Regions from separate parts of the Homo sapiens genome. Here regions 2, 3 and 4 are each linked to region 1. The links are contacts of gene promoters, found by promoter capture Hi-C in blood cells and fetal thymus (Javierre and others, 2016). All regions are on one chromosome and are shown on one strand. Each heading gives the region's core, a stretch centred on a gene start or on the middle of the fragment in contact. The rest is flanking DNA. Distances are from core to core; before and after follow the strand shown. Region 1 holds the start of KLF9 (KLF transcription factor 9). Region 2 holds the start of ALDH1A1 (aldehyde dehydrogenase 1 family member A1). Region 3 has its middle 22 kb from the start of ANXA1. Region 4 overlaps ANXA1 (annexin A1).

The links. The method cuts DNA at HindIII sites, captures the fragments that hold promoters and counts their contacts. A CHiCAGO score of 5 or more calls a contact.
Region 2: a fragment that was not itself captured here is called in contact with the fragment with the promoter of KLF9 in region 1 in 1 of 17 cell types (M2 macrophages); the score reaches 5.2 in M2 macrophages.
Region 3: a fragment that was not itself captured here is called in contact with the fragment with the promoter of KLF9 in region 1 in 1 of 17 cell types (activated CD4 T cells); the score reaches 6.1 in activated CD4 T cells.
Region 4: a fragment that was not itself captured here is called in contact with the fragment with the promoter of KLF9 in region 1 in 1 of 17 cell types (total CD8 T cells); the score reaches 5.6 in total CD8 T cells.

Annotation. Positions count from the first base shown.
Region 1 is chr9:70,413,113-70,417,779 of GRCh38, reverse strand. It overlaps KLF9 (KLF transcription factor 9), which reads left to right and starts at 3,123. Exons shown (of 2, transcript NM_001206.4): 1 at 3,123-4,667. The coding sequence starts at 4,417. KLF9-DT (KLF9 divergent transcript) reads right to left here and starts at 3,590. Exons shown (of 4, transcript XR_001746710.3): 1 at 3,370-3,590. RefSeq lists enhancers at 3,411-3,540, 3,881-3,960, 3,789-4,642, a promoter at 3,272-4,074 and a silencer at 4,251-4,430. The HindIII fragment of the contact is 11,812 bases long and covers 1-4,667 here.
Region 2 is chr9:72,951,842-72,956,347 of GRCh38, reverse strand. It overlaps ALDH1A1 (aldehyde dehydrogenase 1 family member A1), which reads left to right and starts at 3,295. Exons shown (of 13, transcript NM_000689.5): 1 at 3,295-3,413. The coding sequence starts at 3,348. The HindIII fragment of the contact is 2,986 bases long and covers 777-3,762 here.
Region 3 is chr9:73,126,985-73,131,937 of GRCh38, reverse strand. No RefSeq gene overlaps it. Among named protein-coding and RNA genes, the nearest start is that of ANXA1, 22 kb to the left of the region's middle. The HindIII fragment of the contact is 348 bases long and covers 1,330-1,677 here.
Region 4 is chr9:73,164,552-73,169,526 of GRCh38, reverse strand. It overlaps ANXA1 (annexin A1), which reads right to left. Exons shown (of 13, transcript NM_000700.3): 9 at 4,318-4,411; 10 at 3,335-3,430; 11 at 1,972-2,030; 12 at 373-495. Among named protein-coding and RNA genes, the nearest start is that of ANXA1, 15 kb to the right of the region's middle. The HindIII fragment of the contact is 794 bases long and covers 1,992-2,785 here.

The DNA of each region.
Region 1 (4,667 bases), core at 1,874-4,373:
CCATTAAATGTTGATTTAAGGTTTTCTGACCTTCACTGCCATAAAGAGCAGTATTTGTAGATGTACAGCAGATGAGATGGTATTTAAAGAACCCAAGTCTTGCCCCAGTTTTTTTCTCTAGGATTTTTTTTCTTTTGTTTTAGATCCCTTGAGTGTTTGGAGTTTGGGAGGAACTATTGGAGATTTATTAATCTAATCTCATCAATTTACAGATAAGGAAATAGCTCCCAGAGATTGTCTGAGGTTAGAGTTTATCTCAGACCCAAAGGCCAGCTCCTCACAGTGGTCTACAACGCTGAAACAGCTGACTGTAGGCACTACTTCTTATTAGAGCTAATAATGATAATACTGTAATTATTTTAGGATGCACAGAAAACAAGGCTGATATGTTCTGGCTACAGGCCCATAAGCCATTGTTTTGAGAACTTTGATAATAAAGCAAATTCTTAGGCAGAATTTAGAGAGGAAAGCATAAACTAGAAGCACACTTACAGTCTGAATTTTCATGCTCCTTCCGGTTGGTTTGTTTGGATTTTGAAAATGTGTATTTACAAAGACTAACTTGGGGGAAAACAGCCCTCTTACATTTATGTGGCATAATATATACTTTAGTGATAAATTATTTTAATTAGGAATGATTCATATTAATTTGGGATCATTTATTTTGCCAACATTTAATTGGGACAACCACATGCTGGCAAAACAGCCCAAGCCGGTTTTAATCATAAAACTATTATAATACGCATTCCAACACCCCCAAGGAAACTTCACTGTTGAAAATAGAAGAAAAAAATCCTGACATAGAAATAATTATTTGCTGATATGTTATTTTATATATACGTTTTTAACATATAAACTTCATGGAGGACAGAGTCTCTTTTCATTTCTGTATTCCCCCATGCCTAGCTCATTGCCAGGAACATAAATATCTGGAGAATGAATGAGTGGAAAAGGAGAAAAAAGAGAAAGCATTCTACAGTTCTAGAATTGCTGGGTTTAAAAAGATATTCTAAATCAAGTCAAGCAGCAGTTATGTTTGTAAATGTGTGAGAAATTCATGTAGATGAAATCTCAGTTTTCTTTCATTACTTTCTTTTGTAACTCTGAAATGAGTGAGTTTGGAGAATTCAGTGTTTATGTCCAGTTCAAACAAAGTGAAATTAAAGGGAATTAAAGAAAAGCTGGCAAGGAGTAAGGAAGGGAAAAGTTTATATTTTTAAAAAACCTAAAGTGACTGATGTATTCAAATTCCTGGATTATATAATCTTCAAGGAAAGATACAGACTTTTCCTCTATTCTGGAATAATGATGATGGTGGTCCTAGGGCTGTCTATAGATGTCCAGGCCCGAGCAGTCTGTTTCACCAGTACAATCCCAGTTAAAATGCAAGTCTGAGGGGTTGTACAGGCCATGATCATAGAGATCCTGGAGAGATCCCGCTGGTATATGCACTGGGCCTTGAGGCAGGCAAAGGTGCAATTTCTAAGTGATCGTGTATCCTAGGGGACAAAATTTGTCCCAGAAAAATCATGAAGTAGGCAAACTCCCCTGGGCTTCAGTGAATTCTTTTCTAAAATTAAGAGATTAAGTTCTAAAAATGCAAGAACTCCAAGATGGCTTGGAGTTTTTTATACACTGTATACCTACCTTACAGGGATGCATGCAGGGTGCTTGGTACAGGGCCTGACACAGAGTAAGCCCTCCATGAAAGGGGTCGGTGATAATGATGCTGATGGTGATGATATTCTTGGTTGCCCAGTATCCCCTATCTACACCTTTCTTCCACCTGCAGTCACCTACTGCAATATCTTCCCTGTACCACTTTAATATTTTTGTTGTTGTTTTCTTTATTTTTTTAAGCTGTACACTTTTATTGAACTGGTCTTGTCAGGTTTGTTATTTTTTAATTAAAATCTATTATACTCTTACTTACCTGAGCCACCCTTAGTTATGATTTAAAAAAAAACAAAAAAAACAGGGCCTTGCTCTGTTGCCCAGGCTGGAGTAGTACAGTGGTGTAATCAGGGCTCACTGCAGCCTTGACCTAGGCTGACGCAGTCCTTCAGCCTCAGCCTCCTGAGTAGCTGGGACTACAGGTGCGAGCCACCACGCCTGGCTAACTTTTTTTTTATTATTATTATTTTTGATGTACCACTTTAAAAACAAAGTCAAAAGAAACTACTGTAGATCTCACATTGGTAGAGTCAATTTGAGACCCTTGCCTCGGAGACCAGAACCTGGTGTAACTTTCTCTTAACAAAGGTTAATAGCCAGTGGGGGGTCAGGGTTGGAACTCACCGAATCTGCATCACATAGAATCAGGTACCTCTCACATTCACGAAAGTGAATTATTTTTAATGAATTGTGCTGACAGTATGCCTCTTGCAAAAAGAACTAGCCCTAGATTCTTTTCTAGCTATCAAGATGGAAAACAACCACATCGTTAATTCAGACGGAGGGGTAAACCAAGTTAATCAGACTCCAAGACCCATACTAATTGTTGACCAAGTAATGCCACAGTATTCCATGGCTAAGGATTTCCAGCTTGTTCCAGTCCCTAAAAATCTGTTCTGCACAGTTAATATTTCACAAAACCAAAAGGGCTTAGTTGCAAGCACAAAGAGCTAGAAATCAGGAGACTTGTGGTTTCTATTGAGTTCTATCATTATCTGTCTAATAAGATAAATAAGTCACTTCTCTGTAACTCAGTTTCCACATTTGTGAAGTGAGGGAAGAGAAACATGTCCTAAAAACCATGCAGGGGCTCTGGAAAGAAAAAGAGCTAAGAATGGTGGGTTTTTTATAAAAGTTACACAAATGAATGGTTTTTGTCTCCGTTTTTCTGAAAGTGGGTTAAAAATAGCCTCCAAATAAAGCTAAAAGAATTTATTTAGACTAAATTGCACCAGAGAAGTAGAGGAATTAAGAGATATGACAAGCAAAGATGGGATGTTTCAATGGAAGAATCTCAGGCAGTAAAAAGGCTATGCTGTAAAACCAGAACTTTTGTTAGCACTGCATTTTTAAGATGAATTGGTCATAGTTAATGTATTGGATGGAAGAATTTTTAAACATCTGCCCCAAAGTATGCTGCATCCAAAAAATATATAACAAAACGAATTCTTACTCATTTGTGTTTATTCTTGGACTTATCCTGACATAATGGGGTTTTTTTAATTATAGATTCACACTGCATTTATTCATCACCCCTGTCCTCTCATCCATAACTCAAATTTACTACCAGCAACACAAAATACAAAGATGTGTCCAGTTTCACTACAGCTCTTCGCGTTTACAAGTGTCGAGCGCTTGCTTTCGGAACGCCCTTGTGATTGGCCGAGCCAATGCCAGTGACATCAACCAACTTACTTTTGATTGGAAGGCTGGTTGCTGGGACTGTAGCGTTTGCAGGAAGTCACTTAACTGTTTGGGAGCTGGAAAACCGAAGCTGAAGTTCTCTTTTGCCATAGGAACGAGCGCAACTGACTAGGAAAGATGTGTCCCAAAGCTCCGCAAGCTGGAACGTGAGCCAGGAGGCCCGGACCGGCCACGGGACCGCGAGGCACTCCGAAAGTGTGCGGCTGCCCCTTCCCTGCCTCCCAGCTGTTACCCTTTTAAATGTCAGTGTTCGAGGCTGTAGGGGTAGCACGAGGCAGCGAAACGGAACAGTCGGATTGGCCGCACGCCTCAGTTCTAGACGCACCTCTCCACCGAAGGCCGTTCTGACTGGCAGGGGGAGAAAGTAAACAGAGTTGAATCACCCTCCCCACTGGCCAATTGGAGGGGGTTTGGTTTGTGACGTGATGGGATTCTGCGAAATTGTTACTGAGCAAGAGAATGCCGGAACGGTGCGGACCGGCCGGAGCAGGGGTTCAGAAGCCGTCAGTGGACTCGGGAAAAAGTGTCTCTTAGACCTGGCGCTCGGCGGGACCCTCGCCACCCGCGTCGGGGTGATCGGGTGAATGTCCTGGGGCTTTGGCTCGACGGCGAGGCGGCCGAGGGCGTGCACCTCTCTTGCAGTTTCCTCTCCCAGCGCCTCGGGGGCGTTTTCAGTCGAATAAACTTGCGACCGCCACGTGTGGCATCTTTCCAAGGGAGCCGGCTCAGAGGGGCCGGCGCGCCCGTCGGGGGATCGCGGCCGGCGCGGGGCAGGGGCGGCGGCTAGAGGCGGCGGCGCGGCGGAGCCCGGGGCCGTGGATGCTGCGTGCGGAGGCGCTGCCGGTTACGTAAAGATGAGGGGCTGAGGTCGCCTCGGCGCTCCTGCGAGTCGGAAGCGCCCCGCGCCCCCGCCCCCTTGGCCGCCGCGCCGTGCCGCGCCGCGCCGCGCTCGTCGTCCGAGGCCAGGGCAGGGCGAGCCGAACCTCCGCAGCCACCGCCAAGTTTGTCCGCGCCGCCTGGGCTGCCGTCGCCCGCACCATGTCCGCGGCCGCCTACATGGACTTCGTGGCTGCCCAGTGTCTGGTTTCCATTTCGAACCGCGCTGCGGTGCCGGAGCATGGGGTCGCTCCGGACGCCGAGCGGCTGCGACTACCTGAGCGCGAGGTGACCAAGGAGCACGGTGACCCGGGGGACACCTGGAAGGATTACTGCACACTGGTCACCATCGCCAAGAGCTTGTTGGACCTGAACAAGTACCGACCCATCCAGACCCCCTCCGTGTGCAGCGA
Region 2 (4,506 bases), core at 1,020-3,519, 2.5 Mb before region 1:
ATCCACACATGGCAGAAACAGCGAGAGATCTCTCTGGAGTCCCTTTTATAAAAGCACTGATCCATTCATGAGGGTCCTACCCTCATAACCTCATTACCTCCTAATATGATTTGGCTCTGTGTTCCCACCCAAATCTCACCTTGAATTGTAGTTCCCATAATCCCCACATGTCATGGGAGGGATCCGGTGGGATGTACTTTAATCATGGAGGGGGGTTACCGTCATCCTGTTCTCATGATAATAAGTGAATTCTCATGAGATCTGATGGTTTTATAAGGGGGTTTTCCCCCTTTTGCTGAGCACTTCTCCTTGCTGCCACCATGTGAAGAAGGACGTGTTTGCTTCCCCTTCCACTGTGATTGTAAGTTTCCTAAGGCCTCCCCAGCCATGCTGAACTGTGAGTCAATTAAACCTCTTTCCTTTATAAATTACCCAGTCTCAAGTATGTCTTTATTAGTAGCATGGGAATGGACTAATACACCTCCCAAAGGCTCCATCTCCTAATACCATCACATGGGGGGTTAGGATTTCAACATATCCATTGTGACTGGACAAAAAAAATTCAGTCCATTGCAGAAGCTATTTTTAATTCATCATATGACTTTTTTCAACATTTTTTTAAAAATTTTAAGTCCTGGGTGGCAGATTAGGTTCCTTTTATCTTTTCAGGAACTGAGGATTGGACGGAGTTCTGGAGATGTTTGTTGTAAAATGAAAGAGTAGTTTCAAGAATGGTTGAAGTCATAATCTATATGTTTCTTGGTATAATGAAAGCTTTCACAAATGGCTGGAGAAGTCAAATTCAAGAGATGAATAAACTATCCTCTTATGTTTCTTGCTTCTCTCTCCATATGTGTGTGTGCCTGTGTGTGTGTGTGTGTGTGATTTAGTTTGTTCATAAGGAGGAAAAAGAAGATGAAACATCATTTGTCGATTACTCTCAAGTTAAAGGGACAGCTCCTCCTCTGCTGCATAGTCCTGGCATACCATAAAAACGTACAATCCTGGGTCCAGTTCTAAAATGTGCAACCTTGGTCCCTAGGTTCTCACAAAAGCCATTATTTCCTCTGTAAGGAATAGAAGTAGTCTGATGAAATCTTTTCCTCATATGCAGCAATTCCCAGAAATATGCTATTCTACAAAATAAGCTCTCAGGGCAGGATGATGTTTACCTCAAAAATATAGGTCTCAGGCCCTGTGGTTTCTAGGCAGAAAAGATCTGCTTAAGTGAGGTTAGGGCTAAAGAATTATGGATGCATAAATGATACTTAGTAAATATTTGCTGAAATTAAATGGGCAGGTGTGGTAACCTGTCTCCAAAGCAACTCCTTTTGCCTACATTCAGGAATGCCTGGTATAAAGGGACTGTTCTTACATAATTATCCAATAAAATACAATTGAGAATGATCATATAAGAAGTGAGATGACAAGCCAAGTATGTTATGAAGCCTTGAGCTTTCATCGCCTGGACATCAAATAAACCAGTATTTGAATCCACAAACAACTGTGACTCTGGGAGAAGAAAGCAGCAAAACACAGCTGTTTGGGCATGGCCAGAGCGCCACTCTCAAGTTATGTAACAGCTGTTGTGTAATTGTGCATTTAACTCAAAACACATTTTTGAGAGAGAAAACAATTAGACTTTCCAAAAAGAAAGAAACAGAGAAATGTTGAAAGAACACAGAAGTTTCTATCTGGTCATCAAACATAAGACACGGGGGAGTCAAAGGCATTGGGAATGATATTGCCTTAGAATCTAGGGAGTTGGCCCGTGCACCAAATCTGGCCTGCCTTCTGTCTTTTTAAATAAAGTTCTATAGGAAAACAACTACACCCATTAATTTACCTATCATCTACAGTTTCTTTTAAATAGAGTCAAGTAAATTATATCAGAAACCATCCAGCCCAGAGGCTGAAAATATTTACAGAAAAAGTTTTGCAAATTCTTGTCTTAGATGAATAAAAAGTTATGTTTAAATGCCTGTAAGGGTGACTATTCACTGAGAAAACCAAAGCAGTTGATGCTTGAACCCATGTAGGAGTTCTCTTGTGGAGAATAGGGTAGAAATAGTAAACAGAAATAAGAGTCCAGGTTTGGGAGTCAGACTGGCCTGAAATGAAATTCTGGTCCTGCACTAATAGATCTGTGACCATAAGTAAGCTACTCACCCTCTGTATGTCTCTAAAATGGGGATATGAAATGAGGGTAGAAAGGGAAACAAGTGCTGCACCTGATTTGGGCAAACAATTCAGAAATTTTTAGTTTCCCTATGTAAGTCCCATATTCAGGGGAATTGGCAAGTTTCACTAGAAAAAAAAAAATTGGTTGATTCTCCACAATCAGAGCATCCAGAGTATTTTATCTTGTTCCTATTGTAACGTTTGCTAGAGCTACAATACAATAAAGTATTGTACTTAAAATGGGAGTAACACTGTTTAAAAAATTGTCCTTCAGCTAAATATTAATTTAAGAACTTGAATTGTTTGGAAGCCCTGCTTAAATTTAGTCTTTGTACACTGCCTATGTTGATAAATACAGACAACTTCCAAAACCAGGATTACTTTCATTTTAAATGAGTATTAATAGATGATATTGCCATATTTCTAATTGTGGTGATTGTGTGTGACAGTGTGTTCCGAATTCCCTAAAAGTCCTGCTGGCTTTTCTGTTCACATATAGAAAATAAAGATAATTTAGGGCTTCTGAGATCACAGTAGGTCTACTTACCCAGCACTGAAAATACACAAGACTGATACGATATTTTAAAACTAACTTAGGGTAGGGTGTAGATAAAGGGCCTTTCTTCCCCAAACAGCACCTTGATTTTCTGGGAGATGGACTGATTTCCTGAAAGCCTTGTCCTGAAGACACCTGGCCAGCTTCTACTGAGAACAAGTGCCCTTTTAGACTCTTTTCAATCCTCAAATTCTCTGATTCCAAGTCTGTCAGAGAACAGAAAGTTACATAGTAGCATTAAAAAGCATGAGAAGTCAAAAAAATAATAACTGGCCTTAGTGGCCAGAGCAGCTGCTGCATACACTTATCACAGGTTTCGGCTTTGTAAATTAATTCATCTGCAAATAGTGCACTGTCTCCAGGTACAAATTCGATGCTGGAGCACTGGTTTCTTAAGGATTTAAGTTTAAAGTCAAAGGCTTCCTGCCCTAGGTGTTACAAATAAGTAGTGTCGTTTTCTTTTTTTGCTCTGAGTTTGTTCATCCAATCGTATCCGAGTATGCAAATAAACTTTAGCCCGTGCAGATAAAAAAGGAACAAATAAAGCCAAGTGCTCTATCAGAACCAAATTGCTGAGCCAGTCACCTGTGTTCCAGGAGCCGAATCAGAAATGTCATCCTCAGGCACGCCAGACTTACCTGTCCTACTCACCGATTTGAAGATTCAATATACTAAGGTGAGTAAAACTTCTATTTTCTGCTTTGACTCGGGTTTGCAAAAACTGCATTTATGTAAAGCATTAAAGGTCAATTTAAGTAAACTTGTGTAAAGAGCCCTTTGCAAATATAAAAATAAAAGGCATGCAAAATGCAGGTCTCAGTTTAGTGTCCTGATCAAATATGATCTAAATCATATCAGACAATCTTTCATAAATTTATTTCTTAAAATATTTCCAAGCGAAAGGAATTCTCTTCTGTGTGAAAGGATTCTTATACCAGGATTCAGAGGACTTTACTAAGCACTTCTATTAACTTCACTATAGCCGGCATGTATGATAAGAGAGCAAAATACTCACTAGAGAAGCTTACTGGAAAGAACCAAACGAGTAGGAACAATAGAAAGCAAACAAGGAGAAAGAGAGCATACTGAAATAACATAACTTTCCAATATGTTTAATAAAATGAGTGTTAAAATAGGGGGACTTAAGTCTGATAATTGGATTCGAAAATCTTCAGATGGACTTGCATTATTTTGCATATTTTGGTGGGAGGAAGAAAAGCATTATTTCTTCAGCCAAGTTTGTTGCCATTGGAGCAGATGTGTAATTGTTAACTGATAAATATTTAGAGAAACAAGAGCAGGAGCTAGATCCAGACTTTAAAATCCGCAGCTGGGGGGAACTAGGAAATGGATCCTGCTTGAGTCGTTCTGAGAGTAACTCTGAACTTTGCCTGTTTCACACTGCTTTCCTGTCAGATCCTAGAACTCCAAAACAAACAAATGAATAAAACACAATCTAACCAAAATTACTTGAAGTTATCTTTATGGTGTGATGCAGAAAGTATGGTAAGAAATTAACTCTTGCAAATCAAGAGAGAGCCATTTTGCTGTCTGAATTAGCCAACAGAAAAACAAAGGGCATTATAATTTAATGATAAAGTAAAAGTCCCCACTGTTATATATTTATTTCCTCACTTGTAACCATGGATGGCTTTGAAATCCCAAGGTCTGTTGCATTTTCATTTTCATAAAGCACAACAAATGAGGAAGTTGCTCAGCTGATTGGCTCTTTTCCTCAGGAAAGTAGCAGCAGAGATCAGATTGTGCCT
Region 3 (4,953 bases), core at 254-2,753, 2.7 Mb before region 1:
CTATGTGTGATTGCATATGCATATTTGTATGTGCAGATATAGACATATAGATATGTCTTTCAATTTTCTCTGTTCTCTTCCGTCTATTTTTTGATCTTTCTCGTTCCCGGTACCACAGTATCTTAATTTCTAAAGTTTTGTAATGAATTTTGATGTCTGAAAGGGCAATCCCAACATCCTTTTCTTCATGTCGCCAAGAAGCTAACAATTTTCCATTAGGAAACAGCCAGCCACATTTCCCAGTTTTGGCATGGTAACATACTGAAGACTCCTGTGATAGTAATTGTAGCTTTTTAGTCATTACAAAGTAAAAGATGACAGAGTTAAGAAAGGACTTAAACTGCAAGACCATTCATTAGTTCTACAATGGGTATCAATTTTCATTTGACTCATCTGATGTTGACTACTTAGAATTCCAGCTTTTAAACAAAAGCTAAGTTTAATCTGTCTATCTACCCAAGTTAATCATTCTGTATTAAGTATTCCTGTCTATTTTAGTTTATCTCAAGGATTTCAAATAATTCAACCAATTAACAATCTAGGATAAAGGGATAACTATAATAATATTTGCATTTTGAGAATCAATAATAATTGATTCTCGAAGGTCTACTTCAAGTTTAATAAATGGAATAAATTAAATATATCAAATGGACAATTCCAAAAAACTTTTATTTACATAAAAATTTTAACAACCATTCAAAACTGAATATAGTAAATGTTAAATGAACAAGATAGCTGTTTGGAGAACGTGATTTCTACTAAGAGATAGAGGTCATCGAGAAAGGTTACTGTAAGCCTTAAAACATGAAATAGCACTCACATAGAGAAGGTGCCAAAGGGTATTCCAGAGACGAGAAGCATCATTACCCAAGATAAAGAGACTAGAATATGCATAGTGGACTCCCTGGTTGTAATTCAAATTATAAGTGGATTATTTTTAAAATGTATACAACTGTATGCACAGAAATCTCTGCTGTGTATGCTTGTGGCATTGCAGCTTCCTTCTGTGGGTCTGAGAATTGGTGCAGGTTTTTAAACTGGGTCAAGAAGTAATATTCCGTGGGCATTGATGACATGAGGCTTCCAATTGCTCATCCAGTTTTAATCATCCTTGATTATGTATAGCCAACCACGCTCTTGTTGTCTATCCATCTATTTTTTCTCGATAAACACCTTGGGATATCAGCCATCACCATAGATCTCTAGTGGTTGACTATATTGCACTTGACCCCTGATATTCTGGAATATAATCATTTCCATTGACACTAGGGAGCCCAGTTCTCTAACAGTATTGCCTACTGTCAACTTCGGTCCAGCTATCACTAAGCTTCTCAAATATGCCAATCCCTCCATCAATAGCACATTCCTTATCAGCTTTGTGATGAGAATGTTCTCTGGCCCTTCAATGAACATAATCAGCTGGTAGTCTCTCTGGTGTTACACAATAGAATCATTCTAGCATGCTCACTTCTCTGAGCCTTTTGAGCCCTTCCTCAAAACTCTGCTAAAGCAGTTCTGTCATCTCTGCTTAATTTAATGTGAGCCTTTTTCTTCCCCCTACAGAACTTTTAGTAACCATCCAAGCAGCGTATTAGAACCATTCCCAGGTGCTCTTGTTAGGGAGTTTTCAGTCATGGAAGAATGTTCCCTTGTTGACAAATGTTCCTTTATCAAGCTTCTCTCTCACTATCCCCAGCTCTCACCCCAATCCAGCGCTATCAAGATATACTTCCTGGCATGCTGTCCTGATTCCTTTTGCTGCAAATTAATCACGTCTTGATGTTCTTTTGGAGAGTAATTTTTTCCCTTCCCTGGTTGGCCCATGCTGAGACTTAGATACAGAACTAGAAGACAGGAGAGAAAGTGAAGTCAGATCTTGATAAGGACAAATATCATCGTCAAAGGCATCCATCTCGGTTGAGGTTTTGGTGTGGCCTTCAAGCAAGAGAAAGCTGCTATGTTCCAGCAAAACTAAATAAGCCACTCTTATATGCCCAGGGGTTCAAAGGAATCTGCGAGTTCTATAATTTTGAGCACATCCACCTACAATTCTCTGCACCATCTCTATCAGGGTTCTGACTTAGCATAAAACCTTGCCAAGGCTATTAACTCATCTTTTGTTGTATTTCTACTACTTTTATAGTAAAGTTTATCATCCAGTCTTCCTTTCAATCTGTCTTCTAGCTATAGAAAGCATGGGTTTCTTTAAATGCTGCCCTGGAGTCCTCCAATCTTTCATACCATGCCCCTGGTTAGTAACGGACAAACCTGAGCTTGTCAATTTTCTTCTTCGGCACAATGACACTTAGCAACAACCAACCAATTTCCAAATCTTATAATTAATAAATCCCCCCATAGCTCTGAAATGCATGTGTAGTCTCCTTTCATCTGTATCCCATGCCAACTCACCACTGGCAAAAGTTATGCAATGACAGTGCTAGAGTTTTCAGTTTTTAACAGTTTAATCTCCAACAGTGTGATCCAGTTGTTATCCAGATGGCAAGTGATCTAACTCAGAATCCCTTCCTAAGTGTATGCTTCCTAGGACCACTTCTGAAATAACCTATTTTCAAGTTGCGTTTCTTCATTAGTTTCCTAGGGTTGCTATAAGAAAGTACCACAAACTTGCTGGCATATAACAACAGAAATTTAGTCTCTCACACTTCTGGAGGATAGAAGTTCCAAATTAAGGTCTCGGTAGGGTTGATTTCCTCTGGGTGCTCCAAACGAAATTATGTCCTGTGCTTCTCTCCTGCCTTCTGGTGGTTTGCTGGCAATCTTTGCCATTGCTTGGCTTATAGATGCACCATTCCAATATTTACATCTGGTTTCACATGGCACTCTCCTTTTTGTGTCCTTGTGGTCAGATAACATTCTCCCTGAGTGTCTCTATCTCTGTGTCCAAGTTTCCCTCTTCTTATAATGGCACCATTCATATTGGATTTAGGGCCCACTCTAACATAGTGTCATTATCTCACCCTACCTTAATTACATCTACAATGATTGCATTTCCAAATAAGGTCATATTTACAGGTTAGGACCTTAAGATATATTTTTAAAGGACACAATTCAACCCATAACAGCATTCGAAAGACAAATCTTATGATGAAAATTTGTGTGTAACTTATGTATTAGAGTATATTCCCAAGAAATTACAGAGAAATGGGAATAATAACAGAAGAAGACCAATAAAGGATGCATTATCAAGCAATTTCCAATGAAGTACATCTTTTGTTCAAGCCTGCCATGCATTTCTGGGCACAGTATAGATCTCAACTCTGAATTGGTCAATAGAGGTAAAGTCTTACCTGTGCACCTACCAGTCATTGATTTAGAGCTATGACTGAGGGAATGTAAATTTCCAGGCATATTTAGTTCCCTTTTGTGCAGATAAAGTGGTTGTGACAGCCTGAATTGCAGGTCCCTCACCCAGATTCATAAGTTAAGGTCCTAACCCACAGTACATCAGAATGTGACTTGTTTTGGAGATAGGGCCTTTAAAGAGAAATGGCCTCTCTCCTTGCCATACCACGTGAGAGAGTTTTCTCAGAAAAACCAAACCTGCTGATGCTTTAATCTTACATTTCTGGCTTCTGGACCTTGAGAAAATAAATGTTTATTGTTTAAGACACCCAGTCTTAAAGACACCCCTAGCAAACTAATACAGCAGCCACTGATAATCACAGGGTGCTGTCTCATGGGACTGAGAGCACACTGAGGCAGCTATGAATGTAGTGAAAGAGCCATCAGAGGGAAGAGCACCCATGGTGTCTTCTCTGGCCCTAAGCCTTCATTGCCAGGAAACCATTTGCAGAACACCTGATTTCTGTCCTCACAATTTTAGCTTTTGCTCCATTAGACATCCTGTTTTTTCCAGAAAAGGAACCTGAAATTGCCACTCATACTTGGTCAATGTAGGCTGCTCTAAAAAGTTTACCCAGGATAGCTTTTATATAATAGAGTATCAACTATGGACCCGGGAAGATCATTTGGATACATCTTGACGTTTCTCCACCTGCTGATAAAAGTGAATGAGTAAATACAGCAGCTGTAGTAGGATGAGGGCAGGGTACCAAGAGCACAGTTCCTTCAAGGCTGAGGAAATGTGTCCCCCACAGAATGATCAATTTAGACCACCAGGTACAACATTAACCGAGGATAAGGAAAGTCTAGGATACTGGAAGAATAAAAAGAACACTTAGTTGATTGATTACTATTAAAGCCTCTGCTTAGTTTAATATATATTAAATTCTGTTTTCTTAACTGCACACACAGGGATTTCCATCACAGTCCTAAAAAACAAAATGCATAGCCAACTTTGAGAATTGTTGTCTATATGTAAGAAAAAAATGCAGTAAACAATCACACAAGTGGCAGAACCTCTTTGCTTCCATAAAGGACTAATAATAAGACCCATATTTTAGTCTACTTTGTTAAATCTGATTGTACATAATTTTATATTTCCAAATCTAATTAATATAATGACTCATTGAATGACATTCTACCATATAGTAAAATGTTAAAGTTGATCTTACTTTTTTCGCTCCTCATCTCTATTGTTTGTATGATTTTTTTTTTTTTTTTTTTGAGACGGCATCTTGCTCCGTCACACATGCTGGAGTGCAGAGGCACGACCTTGGCTCACTGCAACCTCCGCCTGCTGGGTTCAAGCAATTCTCCTGCCTCAGCCTCCCGAGTAGCTGGGATTACAGGTGCATGCCACCACGCCTGGCTAATTTTTGTATTTTTAGTACAGACTGGGTTTCATCATGTTGGCCAGGCTGGTCTCGAACTCCTGACCTCGTGATCCACCTGCCTTGACCTCCCAAAGTGCTGGGATTACAGGCGTGAGCCACTGTATCCGGCCTGTTTGTATGGTTGTTATCTTTACCTGGGATTATAATTTTACATATTCATTGCCTGCAAAAGATATTTACTATGAATCTTTAACTC
Region 4 (4,975 bases), core at 1,139-3,638, 2.8 Mb before region 1:
CATGTGATAGAATTAAGATAAATATTTTGAATAAGGAGTTTCTAATCCTCTGACAAATATTAATGGCAAAATAAACCACAATGTCTATCTACCCTAGGGGGAACACTAGAATATTCTGCTTGCTGAATTTATGCATGGGAAACTAAATGTTTCCATGACTTTAGTTGAAAAATGTACCCAGTATTTCAGTAGAGAACTCACTAGTAGATTTTACCAGTGAAAGTTCAATTTACTCATGAAGTATACACCATAATATATTAAATTAATCTTACATATTAAATTTATAGATACAATAAGTCAACTCTTCTCCTTGAAGATCTTGCAAAAAGAACTTTCATTTGTTGGGATGGCATTAGAGGAATCAAAACATACCAGGATGGCTTGGCAAAGGGAGATACCATACATCTTCTGATAGAATGCTTTGATATCATTCATGTCAATTTCAGAACGGGAAACCATAATCCTGATCAATGCCTTATGGCGAGTTCCAACACCCTGGCCAAAATAAATGAGGGTAAGTGTCTCATATTCAGAAAATACTCTCATTAAAAACATGAATTTTAAAGTGAAGCCTTCTTACTCTTCCATATAATTTCTATAGAGAAACTAGCTATACACACACACACACACACACACACACACACACCTTACACGAATGGTAATGAAATGAAAATAAATAATCCTCTACATTAGCGGTAGGTATAGAGAGCTGTCACAACTTCCTAACTCATCTCTCACCATCCGGTCTCTACACTGTCCAATAATTACAAAAAAAGGGAACTTCTAAACTGCAAATCTAATAAACTAGTCTATCTATTTAAAACACTGTCAGTGATCTTCTGTTGCTCTTAGGATAGAATCTAATCAGGGCTTCCGATATCCTGCCTAATTCTTTTTCAAGGCTTACAATATCCTGCCTAATTCTACCATCTCTTCCAGTGTGCACCATCACTCTATACTTACTGTCTTGAGAAGGTTATGTTACCTTTTGCCTTCAAGCCTGTGTGTGGGTTACTTCTTCCTCTTGGACCACCCTTGCTTTATCCCCATCTCTTCCACTCTTGCCCTCATCTGGCTCATTTCTATTTAAACTTCAGGTGTTAATTTAGCTGACAGCAATGCTACCTGGATTTCCAAAGTCTGGAGTATATGTCCCACTTTTCTCTTCCATGGCACCAGGTATTCATCATTACCCAACGAAATATCACACTAGACTATGGCAGAAAGGGGGCAGCAACTATGCTAACCACTACAGAGCAGTACCTAGCATGTCTATCATTTCATATTATTCAAATTATTCATATATATTCAAAATATTCCTTCATATTATTCAAATAGTTAGATCTTTCTTTCTCTCTCTCTCTGAAAACCTCCTTATTTTGGAGCTGCAAAGAAAAAAGGAAGATAACTTCATAACTATTCATTTGTGGGCTCAAAATGTCAGAATAGAAGAGGTACCTTGTATAATACCATGCATGTCAGACAGTAAAGTTAAAGTGACATAGTTGATCTCAAATACATCATTCTACATCCTTAATCATAGAATGACATTTCAAAAGTTTCAACTATTAATCTGTGGCATAAAAGACAGAATAATAAAAACAACAAATCAGACTCATAAAGTGGGAGATTATAAAACTCACAACCTTAGAGGAAGTAGGCCACTAAAATTACACGTTAAAAAAGAAAGTACATCACCCTTCCCGTGGTGACACATGTTTTAAGCAAATCACAAGTGAGCCGTAAATCACTTACAGGCTCACTTTACAATCTCATCTGTAAAAAAAAGCACCGAATCTAACAGAAGTTTATTCTGAGAAGGTAGTGTATTACCTCTTTCATCAAATAGAACAATGATTCTCATTAATGGGAAGATATTAAATGTGAGATTTTCAAACAACATGAGGTTTTCTGTTCTTTCTACAAATAATTCTTCCTCTAAGCAGGACATATAAGTAGAATGGTACATACTTTCATGGCTTGATGAAGCTTCTCTGCAAAGAAAGCTGGTTTGCTTGTGGCGCACTTCACTGTTAGAGAAGAAAATTTTAGTTGATGTATTTACCATGAAAAAAATGAAATATCCATATGAAAGAAACAGGAAATATAGAATTTTGCCAACAGTGTTCTATCCCTCATCATCATTCTTCACCTCTCATCTCCCAATATAGGGCAGTTAACTTCTGAGAAGGTATTTGTGACTCTCTAGATGGTGGTTTTGAATATTCTTTTCCCTGACGATCAATTTTTTTATTACCTTAAATACATCTCAAGAGCAACTTCAGTAGTTTGCGCTATCCAACATATATTCTCCTTGGGAGTGGAGAAGCCACTAGGTGTTCAAGCCTATGTAAATACTTTATTTATGTTACTATAAGAACATTTAAAAAGAACACCCTATGAACAACAGACACTGCAGACTACTAGAGAGGGCAGGGAGAGAAGGGGCATTGGTCAAAAAACTACTTATTGGGTACTATGCTCACTGCCTGAGTGCAGAACACCCATGGAACAAACGTGCACATGTACCTCTGTGTCTAAAGTAAGAGTTGCACAAACAAATAAGTAAAAATAAATGAATAAATGAAGAAAAAACTCTGGGATAGGATGGGCTTAAATATAAAACAGAACCCAAATAATACTAGCACATTCCAGTTCATAGTGTTCTTCATCTTGTCGAGATCTATGGACCAACAGCATTGGCATCAATGGGGAGCTTGTTAGAAAAGCAGAATCTAAGCTCCACCCCAGACCTGGGGAATCAGAATCTGCATTTTAACAAGCTTTCCAGGGGATTCAAGTGCATAGTCATGAATGAGAAACACTGCTTGAGAACATAGGTTCCCCAACCCTGATGGTTGTCTGAATAACCTGGGAGATCTTTAAAAAGTACCGATTTTTAGAGGCCAACTCGGACCCACTGAATCAGACTCTCCTGGACCTGCCCAAGATTGTACAATTAACAAGCAGTAGACCAGGACTTGAAGTTACATTTATCCAGATGTTACATTTATTCCAGATCCCATGCTCTCAGTGACCATTCTGAATTGCCTCTGTGGTGTGCCCAGCCTGGTACATTGTTTGATATAAGTAGGTGCTCAATAAGTATAGTCTATCTCTCTCTATTTTTGAAAAGGGGAATAATATCTATTGTTATTAAGGTTATAGTACTTTGCCAATCTTTTACGTTGCTTCAATTGAAACAGATGCACTACTTCTGATTGTTTTTTGTTTTCTTTTATTGGTTTTGTTGCTGTTGTTCTTGTTAAGTATAGGATAGCTTTGAAAATACAATTTCTAGTTAGAAAACTCTTTCAACTGCTGGACTACATACCGATAGCTGTGAGGCATTTCTCAATGTCACCTTTCAACTCCAGGTCCAGAACTTTGTTCATGTCATGCTTACTGTACTTGGTGTATTTCTGAAACACTGAATATTAAATTCAAACTAAGATACATGCAAAACATCCTTTTCTTTAGAAAGCTTTAGCAAAATCAAGGCAACTGACTCAAAGAATTTTTTAGAATAACAACTTTGGCTACACCTTTTAAAGCAATATACCCAATTAATCATAACGTGAATACTTCATCCTCTCCTAGGAATGTAACTTACCTGGCCATTTTGGTATTCCTATATATTTTGGCGAAATGTTTGCAAATGTTGACAGTTATTAGAAACGGCATGTGATTGACAACTATAGCACTTCCTACAGCAGTTCTAAGAGCCACAGCAAATGGATCTTCCCTTATATAAAGACCTGTGCACTAAATTTCTCTTACATTTAACAGTAGAAATCAGTATACTATTATAAGATGGTGAACTTTGGTAATTGTCATAACTTTTCCATCGCCTTCACTTCCAAGAGGCCCAGAGCTAAATCTTGCACTCAAAGGCCAGGACTTTTTCTGAGTTTTGTCTTGTTGTTGTTTTTCCAAAGCACCTACATATTTCTTTCTTCATTTAGCTCTGAGGGTTTTTTGTTTTTTTTTTTTTGTTTTTCTTCATTCTAATTTCATTTGTTCTGTTATGCATGTCTTTTCCCACACATATTCCAAATCTTTTAGGGGAGTAAAAGCAGTGAAAATAACAAAATTATGTTCCACATGCCCAAGTCACAAAATGTATTAAATATGATAAAGTAGCGGCTGTACAAAATTGGACAAATTGACAAATAACAATGGGTCAGGAACACTGTATCTGTTTGATACAGGAGTGATATTGAAAAAGGGTTCTGTTTTTACTTTCTCTTATTTGTCATCAAAAAAGAAAATTGCATCTTCCATAAACAGATTCCAGAAAAAGAAATTTATTGTTACCTCTGCGAAGTTGTGGATAGCTTCTGGTGGTAAGGATGGTATTGAACACGTTTACGTCTGTCCCCTTTCTCCTTTCTCCTGCTTCATACAAGGCCTGTCAAGAAACACAAAAGTAAACACTTCACTATCTGCTGAAATGATATCTGCACAATAATGTTAGACCTTGTCAAAGATTATATAGGCAATCGCTTTGTGCCCAATACAATCAGAGTAGTCAACAATAAGATTGCAAGTTCTTTAAAGATAGGGACCTTATTTTGTTTGTCAAATATCTTCCACAGTTTCTCTCAAGGTGCCTTGTAAACACTAGAGTCTGAATATATGTTTGCAGAATAAATGTTTGCTGAACTAAATTGCTTTAAGATTATGCTCTATAGTAAGACAACTCCAAGGGGATCTCTAAAGATTTTTTACTCTGTGTTGTTCAAAGTAATTATCAGCAAATGTTACTTATAAATCAATAATTCAACCGTAACCTGGACCTTGCATTTTGATGTTAGAATTTCTGTATTCAAATTCTGACTCTGCAATTTCAAAGCTGCATAATCTTAGACAAATAGATCAACCTTACTAAATGACAGATTTTTTTCTTTTATATATGAAAAATATAATCCCTGCCCTATTGTCACAAGCGGTCTTTATTAACTTTGAAATGTTG